3 separate regions of the Homo sapiens genome follow, and regions 1 and 3 are each linked to region 2. The links are contacts of gene promoters, found by promoter capture Hi-C in blood cells and fetal thymus (Javierre and others, 2016). All regions are on one chromosome and are shown on one strand. Each heading gives the region's core, a stretch centred on a gene start or on the middle of the fragment in contact. The rest is flanking DNA. Distances are from core to core; before and after follow the strand shown. Region 1 has its middle 25 kb from the start of PPT1. Region 2 holds the start of COL9A2 (collagen type IX alpha 2 chain). Region 3 holds the start of ZFP69B (ZFP69 zinc finger protein B).

Region 1 (3,181 bases), core at 139-2,638, 200 kb before region 2:
CACCTTCTTCCTGAGACATTCTGTACCCAAATCTTTGCATGACTGGCTCATTCTTGTCATTAGTTTTTCAGCTCAAATGGGAGTCCCTCGGAGATGCCTTCCCAAGACCATCAGTCTACAATACAAGGCAGCACTGTTTTTTATTTTCTTCAGAGCAATGTTTACTCTTGTCCATTTTTGTTTACTTGATTATTATCAAACTCTTCTGTCTAAAGGAGGACTAACCAGTAGAATTTTCTGCAATGATGGAAGTATTGTTATATTTGAGCTGTCCAATATAGTAGCCACTAGTTACCATATGACTCCTATGCACTTGACATGTGGCTAGTGTGAATGAGTAAAAGAATTTTTAATTTAATTTAATTTAATTTTAACTGATTTAAATTTAGATAGCCACATGTGGCCAGTGGCTACTGTACTGGACAACACAGTTCTAGTATGTAAGCTTTGAGAGAGCAGGGATTCAATCTTATGCTTTGCCATATCTCCAGAACCTAGAACAATTAAATACTTCTAACCAAGATATTCTTTGGAGGATGGAGTCTTGTCAGTGTCTAACATTTGGGTCAGATGTGGCCAGCAATGAGTCATTCATTGATTTGGCTTTTGTCTTAGGAACATCAAGATGAAGATCAAGGAGATCCCTTTTCTTCAAAACATTGCTGAAAAAGATAGTGTAACAACATTGCAGAAAAAATTTTAAAAGTAAGTAACCTCCTACAATTCTTCCAGCAAACATTGCAACTGTTTTAATTTTTTGCATACTGTCTTCCAGATTTTGTTCACATGCAGGTGTCTTTTCAATATTTTGCAGACACAGAGGACACCATCAAAACTTTGTCCTTGGGGGCTGGGCACGGTGGCTCATGCCTGTAATCCCAGCACTTTGGGAGGCCAAGGCAGGCGGATCATTTGAGGTCAGGAGTTTGAGACCAGCCTGGCCAACATGGTGAAACTCTGTCTCTACTAAAAATACAAAAATTAGCCAGGCGTGGTGGCGCGTGCCTGTAATCTCAGCTACTCTGAGGCAGGAGAATTGCTTGAACTCAGGAGGTTGAGGTTGCAGTGAGCCAAGATTGCGCCATTGCATTCTAGCCTGTGCGACACAGACTCCATCTCAAAAAACAAAAACAAAAACAAAAACAAATACCTTTGTCCTTGGAGAACATCTCCAATGCCCAGCCAGGTCTTAGCTCAGAAGGAACCTGACTATTGGAGTCATTTCCTGTGGCTCACCCAGTGAAGAGATCTTACCACCCCACAGCCACTTGGAGAGCCCCGTGCATTGAAGACACTGGGTTTGGCCCTGGGTATATAGCAATTGAAGATCATTTGTGAAGGACTGATATTGAAGAAGGCAGGGGCTATGCTGGCTTATTCATTCATCCAACAACTACTATACTGTGCTATTGAATATCATAAATATTTTCCTTATTTGTACAGGGTCTACTATTTTCCTTTTTATGGCTGAGTAGCAGACACACCAAAATCTACTAAACCTATTCTTTGTGGATTGTAGACCATTTAACTTATGCCCATTATTGGATCTTACAGAATTCTGTAATTAACTCTTCCTGCATGGAGCTTTTTACTTTTGTTGTATTATTTCCTTATAGTGTAGTAGTTGCTTATGTGTATAGGTTCTGGAAAGAGATGATCTGGTTTTTAACACTATCCATGGTAGTTTGGGCAAATTTCTTAACTTCTCTATATCTCAGTATTTCATTTATCAAGAAGGGTCACTAATAACACCTTCCTCATAGGATTGTTGTGAGAATTGAAATGAATAAATTACATGTAAAGTGCTTGGTTCTGAGTTAGTACTCTATACAGAATAACAACTGCTGTTATTATTAATTCTTGATCCAGGAGTAATTTCAAGGATATTAATATTTTCAAGACTGTTTCTAGATTGTGGTAATGGTTGTACAACTCTGCAAATATATTAAAAGTCATTGAACTATACACTCAATAAAAGCCTTTTGCTAATTATGGCTATTTTGTTTTCCCAAATGGTATTCCTATTTTCATTCCTATCCTCACCTCAATTTTATCACAATCTCATCAGAAATGGGGGCTACTATTTTAAATACAGTTTTCTTTATTTGAGAAAGGTCAAATAGAACCCTTAATGTGCTTTCTCTTGCATTTTTTACCTTATTACTAGCAACGAATGCATGTATTGTTTACTCTTTGCTTCCTATTGAATATTTGCTCCCTCTTGCTCTAACTCTGCCCATTTTACTTCTGTGGCTGAAGTCCTTTTTCTTGAATAATCTATTTCTTAGTATGTCTTAATTTACTAATAATAGTGAGTTGGTCTCTAAAAGGAAAGCTTTGAAAAAGCTAATTGTTTTCTCCTTAAAGGGCTCCTCAATATTCTACCAGACCTATGTTCTCATTAGCCAAGGGCCTTCTCCCAACATAGTCTTTCCATCCTAATGTACCTGCAGCATTTTTCCCAGGGCCTGCACTCTAAAGACTTGATAAGAAAAACTTTGAACACATGCTCCTTTCTTCTTGCTTTTCATATCTACTGATTGGGCTTGGAATTCTGCCAAGATAAACAGTGTCCTCTGCTCTTCAGGAAAATGCAAGGCTTCTCAACCATCTTTGAGGGGCCTGCTTCAGATGACAATTTCACAACATGTTCACAGGGCAAACTTGGATTGAGAAGACCCCCAATTTAGAGACAATAAATCTCCAACTGGAAAGAAAGCATCACTACTTTCCCTAGTACAGTAATGTTAATTGAAATATACAGAATGTTGTAACTCTTGCAGTTCCATTTAAGTGAACTAGGGATGACAGCAAAAGAGGCTGACAAGCTGGCCAAACAGGGACTTCCTAGCCCAGGGTCTGAGCTCTGTCAGTGTGCCCAAAGAGGATTAGGCTCAAAGAGTAGACTCATAATAACCAAACTCACAGGAGTTTGAAGTCTATACCTTCATAAAGGATTTCTGAAAGTTCTGTTTGTGACAGACGTGCCCTGAAGATGAGGCAAGGAGTGCAGGTGTTAGTCTGTTTATGTGGGAAAGGACTGGAAACTCTCTAAGGGGACAGAGTGTTCTTCGCTGGGTGTATATTGCTTGTTCAGATGATACCCTGAGACCACAGATGGGTCCTTGGCTTTTTCCTTCTGAATATACAACTGAAGATGTTAACCCAGGATAGTCTGTGG
Region 2 (3,353 bases), core at 223-2,722:
TGTGTGCCATTACATGCATTCATTATCTTACAGAATACTCAGAACCGGGAGGCGGGCGCTATTACGGGCCCCAGTTTGCAGTCGAAGAAACTGGCTCAGAACGTGAAGGGTCCATGGTCACTGAGAGTGGGCGGCGGCGCCAGGAGTCCGCCCTGGATCTGCCCGACTCCTTCCACTGTGCCAGTTTGCCCTTGCGCGGTCGCGGTGGGGAATAGATGGAGACGTGGACAGCTCAAATAAATCACAGATGGAATGTAAGGTTGTGCCTAGCAGGCTGCCGGCCCTCAGTGAGCGGTGGCTCGGGTTGTTGTTCTTACGTGAACGACAGGCAGAGACAGCGCCTCCTCCTCTCCCCATGGTGCGGGAAAACCCGACGGGAAAGTGGGGGAGGCGCAGAGAAAGGAGGTGTAGGGAGGTGAAGCGGGTACTATCTTCCCACTCGGAGCGCCCCTTCGGCAGCACAGCTGCCCGGTCCTCCCTCTGCTAAGCCCTGACTGCTGCAGGGGAGCAGGAGGAGCCGGCACCTCCCAGAAAGCAGACCCTCTCTCTGGATCCCGTTTGCCTGCAATTCAATGCCCCTGGGTGGGTGTGAGGTTTCAGGGAGGTCACAAGTCATATCAAGATGAGGCGAGCTCACAGCTGGAGAGTCTCCATCCTGCTGCCCATCTCTGAACAGATCAGAGATCTTAAAAGGCGGCCCTTTTAAGAGGCCAGCTCGGACCCAGGCAGGGGTCCCGGTGCCCACGACCTCCCCAGGCCGCGAAGTGCCAGGCTGGCGCCCCGCAGGCGAGCTCGAAACCACACCCAGCACCCGACCGGGCCCAGTCTCTGCCCTACCCGCGCGCCCGCAGCCCCCGGCGGCCCTCGGAAGGGAGACGTGGGTAGGCGGGCAGGGCCGAGAGGCCGCCTCGGGGCGACAGCGGCGTCTGGTTGGAGCCGGCGCCCCCTGGGAGGCGGCGGGGGCGGAGGCTGCGCAGCGGGTGAATGAGCACCATTGTATGCCCCGCCACCTGGGCTCCCCGGGCTGCCAGGACCGGGCGCCAGCTCCTGCCCCACGCTGCCTGTCCCGGGCCGGGCCGCGCGTCTGGGGACGGGTCCCGTTTGACTCTCCGGCTCAGCCACCTCCATTCACGGTGCCGCGATGGGCACCATGTATGCACCCACCGAGGGGACCTGCCCGCGGCGCTGTCCTCAGGTGGCCTCTCGGGCTAGGGGTGTCAGTAGGCGCGGGACACAGGCAGAGCTCCTCCATCCCGGACTCCAGACCCCGCACCCTGGACCCTGGCAGCGGAGGGGCTGCGAAACTTACAATCTGCGCCAGAGCGAGCACTACCACCTGGAGGAGAACAAGGAGGCTGCGGGGGGAGGCCGTAGCGGCGGCCATGGCTGGCGGCGAGACCAAGGGGGACGGGTGCGTGTCCGCGCACGCACCGACGGCAGAGTCTCCCGGCGCTCCTCCAGCGCTGGCTGTTCGCGGGCAGGGTGGGCTGGGGCTCCTGAATATGCGGGGGGCGGGGCGGGGGCCGGCGTGAGCTGTCACCTGAGAGGACCGGCGGGGTTGCCGGGAGGGAGGCCGGCGCCAGGCATCCAGCTCCGCCCCGCTCGGTCCAGCCTCCTGCGCCCACCCTCTGTCCTCGAGGGGCGACCGGGGTGCGGGTCGGAGATGATGGTCCAGTTTCTTTGTGAGAAGGCATAAGGCCGTCTGAGGTTCCCCTCGGGACCTTCAGGCCCCAGCACCTTCCCCCTGACGCACAGCCTGTGCCCCATCACTTACCCTACGTCCTCTCCAGGGCCCAGGCCGAGAGCACCTCGGGCTCTGCAGATCTTGCTGCAGGCTCTCCCCAGCTCCCGCCCACCTTGCTCCCCTCTCCTCTGGCTCCTTCCTCTCCAAGCACAAACAAACAGGCCTTTTCCATATTAATATGCCACAGTCCTTCCTGGATCAGCCGTCTCATGAATACTCCATCGGCCTCTTCCAGCTCTTTAGTGGAGCTGTGTGCACCTCCCCCACCCCCGAACTTCCTCACCTCGCTTTCACCTCCCTACTCTGTCCCAACAAGCAAATCTGTCTCCTGGAGGTCTGCAGTGAAGCCCAACCCTTCTTCGGTCCTCCAGGCAGGAAGCTGTTGGCATCTTCACCTGCCCTTGAAGTCTTCCCCATCCAAGCTCCTGCCATCCAGCTCCCCTTTTTCTATTGCCTTTAATTCTCTGCAGCTGCCTTAAGCACTGGTGTGTTTAGGATTGGGCCTTCTCACTCCATGTTCATAGAAACAACTACCACTTTATTCACCAGAGTTTCCGAACCCCGCTGTCCAGCATAGCCCGACTCCAGAGAGCCTTCCCTTCCCTCCCACTCACTTAGGCAATATTGGTAAAATGCTTTGGAATCTGACTTTTTCACAATTATAGATATGACCACAGGCACCCCAAACTCTATGAAGTCTCATTTTCCTCATCTGTAAAATGGGGATACTAATAGTCCATATATATATATATATATATTTTTTTTTTAAGACAGAGTCTTAAAAGGCTCTGGAGTGCAGTGGCACGATGTCAGCTAACTGCAACCTCGCCTCGCGGGTTCAAATGATTCCCCTGCCTCAGCCTCTCGAGTAGCTGGAATTACAGGCATGAGCCACAATGCCTGGCTAATTTTTATATTTTTAGTAGAGATGGGGTTTCGCCATGTTGGCCAGACTGCTCTTGAACTCCTGACTTCAGGTGATCTGCCTGCCTCAGCCTCCCAAAGTGTTGGGATTACAGGCATGAGCCACCGTGCCCAGCAAATTGTCCTTATCTTAAAGGGTTTTTGTGGAAATTGAATGAGATGACTCATGCGAGGCATTTAACCTCGAACCAGCACATAGTAGGTGCTTGATACATTTTAGCTTTCCTTATGATTTATGGATGACTGTTTTACTAGGTTGGCATCCAATGTGGGGAAGCTGGCCACAGGCAGATCAGCTAAAATGATGAACCTAGTTGAAGCTAGAAAAGTCCAACTCCATTGGGCAGGTTAGCAAAGGGCTCTGGATTTTGAAAGGTTGTCCTGGAGCTGAGTTTGGGAGAAAGAGCTTGAGAGAATGTAATTGCTCTGCCTAACAGAGTGAAGAAGAATTTGAAGTTTGTTGGAAGATGAGAGCAAGAGGAGGAGGATGTAAGAGAGGGATGGTGGGCATTGCTTGGGGTGGGTGGGGTAAACCTATAAAGGATTTTTAGAACTGGGATGTCCAAATTCAATTTTAAGTTGTTTGTTTCACATCACTTATCTCTCCATCTTTTGTGGGCTAACCACAAGAAAGGCCTTGTGTGAGTAAGTTTTCTTTTTGTGTGTGGAAATTATGGAAAGAGGA
Region 3 (3,100 bases), core at 543-3,042, 130 kb after region 2:
AAAGGCACTTAGGACAGAGCCTCATATTCTGTAACTATTATATGCTAGTGTATTCATCAGCTTGGGCTGCTGTAACAAAATACCATTGACTGGGTGGCTTAAACCACGGATATCTGGCCGGGCGCAGTGGCTCATGCCTGTAATCCCAGCACTTTGGGAGGCCGAGGCGGGCAGACACCGAGGTCAGGAGTTTGAGACCAGCCTGGCCAACATAGTGGAACCCCGTCTGTACTAAAAATACAAAAAATTAGCTGGGCGTCGTGGCGGGCGCCTGTAATCCTAGCCACTTGGGAGGCTGAGGCAGGAGAATCGCTTTAAGCCAGGAGGCGAAGGTTGCAGTGAACCGAGGTCACGCCACTGCAGTCCAGCCCTGCGGACAGTGCGAGACTCCATCTCAAAAAAACAAACAAACAAACAAACAAAAAACCGGAAATTTATTTTCTCAGTGTGGAGACTAGAAGCCCCAAGTAAGGTCGAGTTGGGTTCGTTTCTGACTAGGACTATATTCTAACCTTAATTACTTCCATAAAGGCCTTATCTCTAAATACTCTCCAAATACAATGGAGGTTAGGGCTTCAAGATAAATTTTGGGGAATCCAAACATTCGGTTCATAACAGCTAGCAAGTACTATAATTGTATTCTATTTCCTCATTTGTTGTTTTTGTAAACTGTTGATGTAGAAATGTATTTGGAGTGATGTACTCAAATTTTGTTGGAGGGAGAAAACTCAGCAATAAAACAGCATTACAGTATAATCGCTTTTGTGGAAAATATATAACAATGCATGAAATACGTTGTGTGTGTGCAGGAAAGGTTGTACACCAACTGTTAGCAAGGTTACCGCTGCTTGCTGAAATTACAGGCAATAATTTTTTTGTTTTTGTGTATTTTCTGGCATTTCAGAAATACAAGGTAAGCAATAAACATGAGAACTTTTATTGAATACTAGAAGAGAAAACTGTTGTGGTATTCTTTTAACAATATACCGGAATCCATTCAACTGTCTGCTGAGAATAAATAACTGGCATGTACATAATATTTAGGGAAAGTGCTATGGATTATTTTACACCAGTGTCGTTTCACCAAAAAACGTGATGCCGATGGCTCCCTTTTGTCACGGGTTTCAAAGGCTCACCCTAACGTTCACGTGCATTTTCCCAGCGGAGGAAAGATGGTTGTTCTTCATCAGAGTCTGGGGCCCAAGAACGCAGGCTCCATCTCCTCCCGCAGGAGCCAGGCTGATGATGCTCGCAGGGATCGGATACTGGGAGCCCCTGAACGCAGCCAACCCGGCGCGCACCGGTGGGGGCGTCTGCGCTGGCGGAGCGGCTCCCCGGGAGGACGCTGGGAACCATGCTCTAGCCAGCCGCTGCGCAGGCGCACTGGGCCCCGACTGCCCGCCGCAGCGCTACGTGGGAGCTTGGCCGCGCAGTGCCGGAACCCGGCTGCAGCGGTGGGAAGGCGGGGGCGTGCCGGCCCAGCGGGGAGAGGGTGAGCGGGTGGCTGTCCCGGGCTTGGGGAGCTGGGCGAGCCGGGAAGCGCGAGTTCCGCCCGCGGCCACCCTGTCGCGCGCGGTGCTCTCCGCAGCCCCGGAGTCGTGCTCAGACAAAGGCTGGGAGGCTAGGGCCGGGGGCGTTTTGCTTTGTGGGGAGGACTTAGCCTCTCATTTGGGGAGGAGGAGGCGGGGTCTAGCGGTTTCGCGGTTTGCTACAGCCGACTAGTGAAAGAGCTGGGATTCCAAATCCCCGGCTACTTTACACATAATTACTGCCCCAAACAAAGAATTGGGTTGTATTCGTCTCTTTGTGCTTCCTGACATGTGCGCGGTGCTTTGAATTTTGTGGGCTGTGTCTGCCCACCGTCTCCGTGTATCTTTTGGAAACATTTTACAGTGATCCATATATGTTCTAGCGTTCTGCCCTATGACTGAGCCTCCTTAGTCCTTTGCTGATTCTAATGTCTTCTGCTCAGCATCTGCAGGGGCTGCTGAGAGTAAATACTTGGCGCCTCCAGCTGCTGGCCAAGGAGACAGATGGAGCTCAAGTTGGGAGATACGCCCTGAGAGCCGATGATAGACACAAGTCCAGATCTCGGATTTTGATACTGTATGTTCCCTGGGTTCCTGAGAGAGGACATTGAGGAGTAGGAGTCGGCGATTAAGGAGATCGGTACAATTGGGAAGCCTCCTGTCAGAGCTTCCAGCAATTTCCTCATCAGAGGTGGACAAGCCCTATGGGCTAAGACAGAGGGTCCTCAGAAAGGAGTGCGGACGCCGTCATGCTGCAGCAGCTCCTGATCACCCTGCCCACCGAGGCCAGCACCTGGGTGAAGTTGCGTCATCCAAAGGCGGCCACGGAGCGGGTGGCCCTGTGGGAGGATGTGACTAAGATGTTTAAAGCAGAAGGTAAGAATAAACTGATGGGTGGGAGGGAGGAAAAGCAGTCCCCTCTAGTGTGAGAAGGAATGAGTCACTTGAGTGGAAGCATCTCTTAGGGAGACGAGTGGGTGGAGGGTTTCCGGAGTTGTTGATTGTGGCTCCTAGTCTGGGGTTTTCCTAAGTAGTGGTGGTCTTTTCAGCCTAGGACCAGTATTTCAGTGTCATGGTTATGTATATTATTTATTTTCATCTTTCCCATGGCCATGTGGGGCAGGATGGACTTAACCTGATTTTTCTTATTCTAACAGTGGGGAAATGTAAATCAAATGGGAGGCCTGCCCAGGGTCACACAGGAACTTGGTGGCTAGGTCAGAAAGAGAAGCAGCAGGGGAAGTACCAGGTGAGCCTGGAGTAACTTGTGCTAGAAAGCAAGGAAGAGCTTAAAGACTATGGATATGTGTCAAAAGAGGCCAGGTTTAAGGGTCTCTCACTCGACAGATTTGGGAAAGCTTAAGTATCCAAACTGATGGTAACACCTTGAATAAGTAAAATTCCACATGATCACCTTGACACTTAAAATAGAGAAAGACGTGGGGGGGGGGGAATTCATTTGCAAACATTGGAGGTAATTAATACACTGATTCCTTACTTTGAAAAATAGGTTATTATGGGAATGAATGTGCATTTACCTTGCCTTTTAGATCCTCTTCAGTTGGTGAGGG

The links. The method cuts DNA at HindIII sites, captures the fragments that hold promoters and counts their contacts. A CHiCAGO score of 5 or more calls a contact.
Region 1: a fragment that was not itself captured here is called in contact with the fragment with the promoter of COL9A2 in region 2 in 2 of 17 cell types (total B cells and erythroblasts); the score reaches 6.3 in total B cells.
Region 3: the fragment with the promoter of ZFP69B here is called in contact with the fragment with the promoter of COL9A2 in region 2 in 1 of 17 cell types (neutrophils); the score reaches 6.1 in neutrophils.

The regions. Positions count from the first base shown.
Region 1 is chr1:40,120,491-40,123,671 of GRCh38, forward strand. No RefSeq gene overlaps it. Among named protein-coding and RNA genes, the nearest start is that of PPT1, 25 kb to the left of the region's middle. The HindIII fragment of the contact is 1,890 bases long and covers 444-2,333 here.
Region 2 is chr1:40,315,814-40,319,166 of GRCh38, forward strand. COL9A2 (collagen type IX alpha 2 chain) reads right to left here and starts at 1,473. Exons shown (of 32, transcript NM_001852.4): 1 at 1,310-1,473. The coding sequence starts at 1,384. RefSeq lists enhancers at 331-967, 968-1,604 and a silencer at 648-1,157. The HindIII fragment of the contact is 22,313 bases long and covers 1-3,353 here.
Region 3 is chr1:40,448,684-40,451,783 of GRCh38, forward strand. ZFP69B (ZFP69 zinc finger protein B) reads left to right here and starts at 1,793. Exons shown (of 5, transcript NM_023070.3): 1 at 1,793-2,405. The coding sequence starts at 2,279. It overlaps ZFP69B-DT (ZFP69B divergent transcript), which reads right to left and starts at 1,356. Exons shown (of 5, transcript NR_198977.1): 1 at 1,137-1,356. RefSeq lists a silencer at 1,412-1,671 and an enhancer at 1,887-3,086. The HindIII fragment of the contact is 15,908 bases long and covers 1-2,885 here.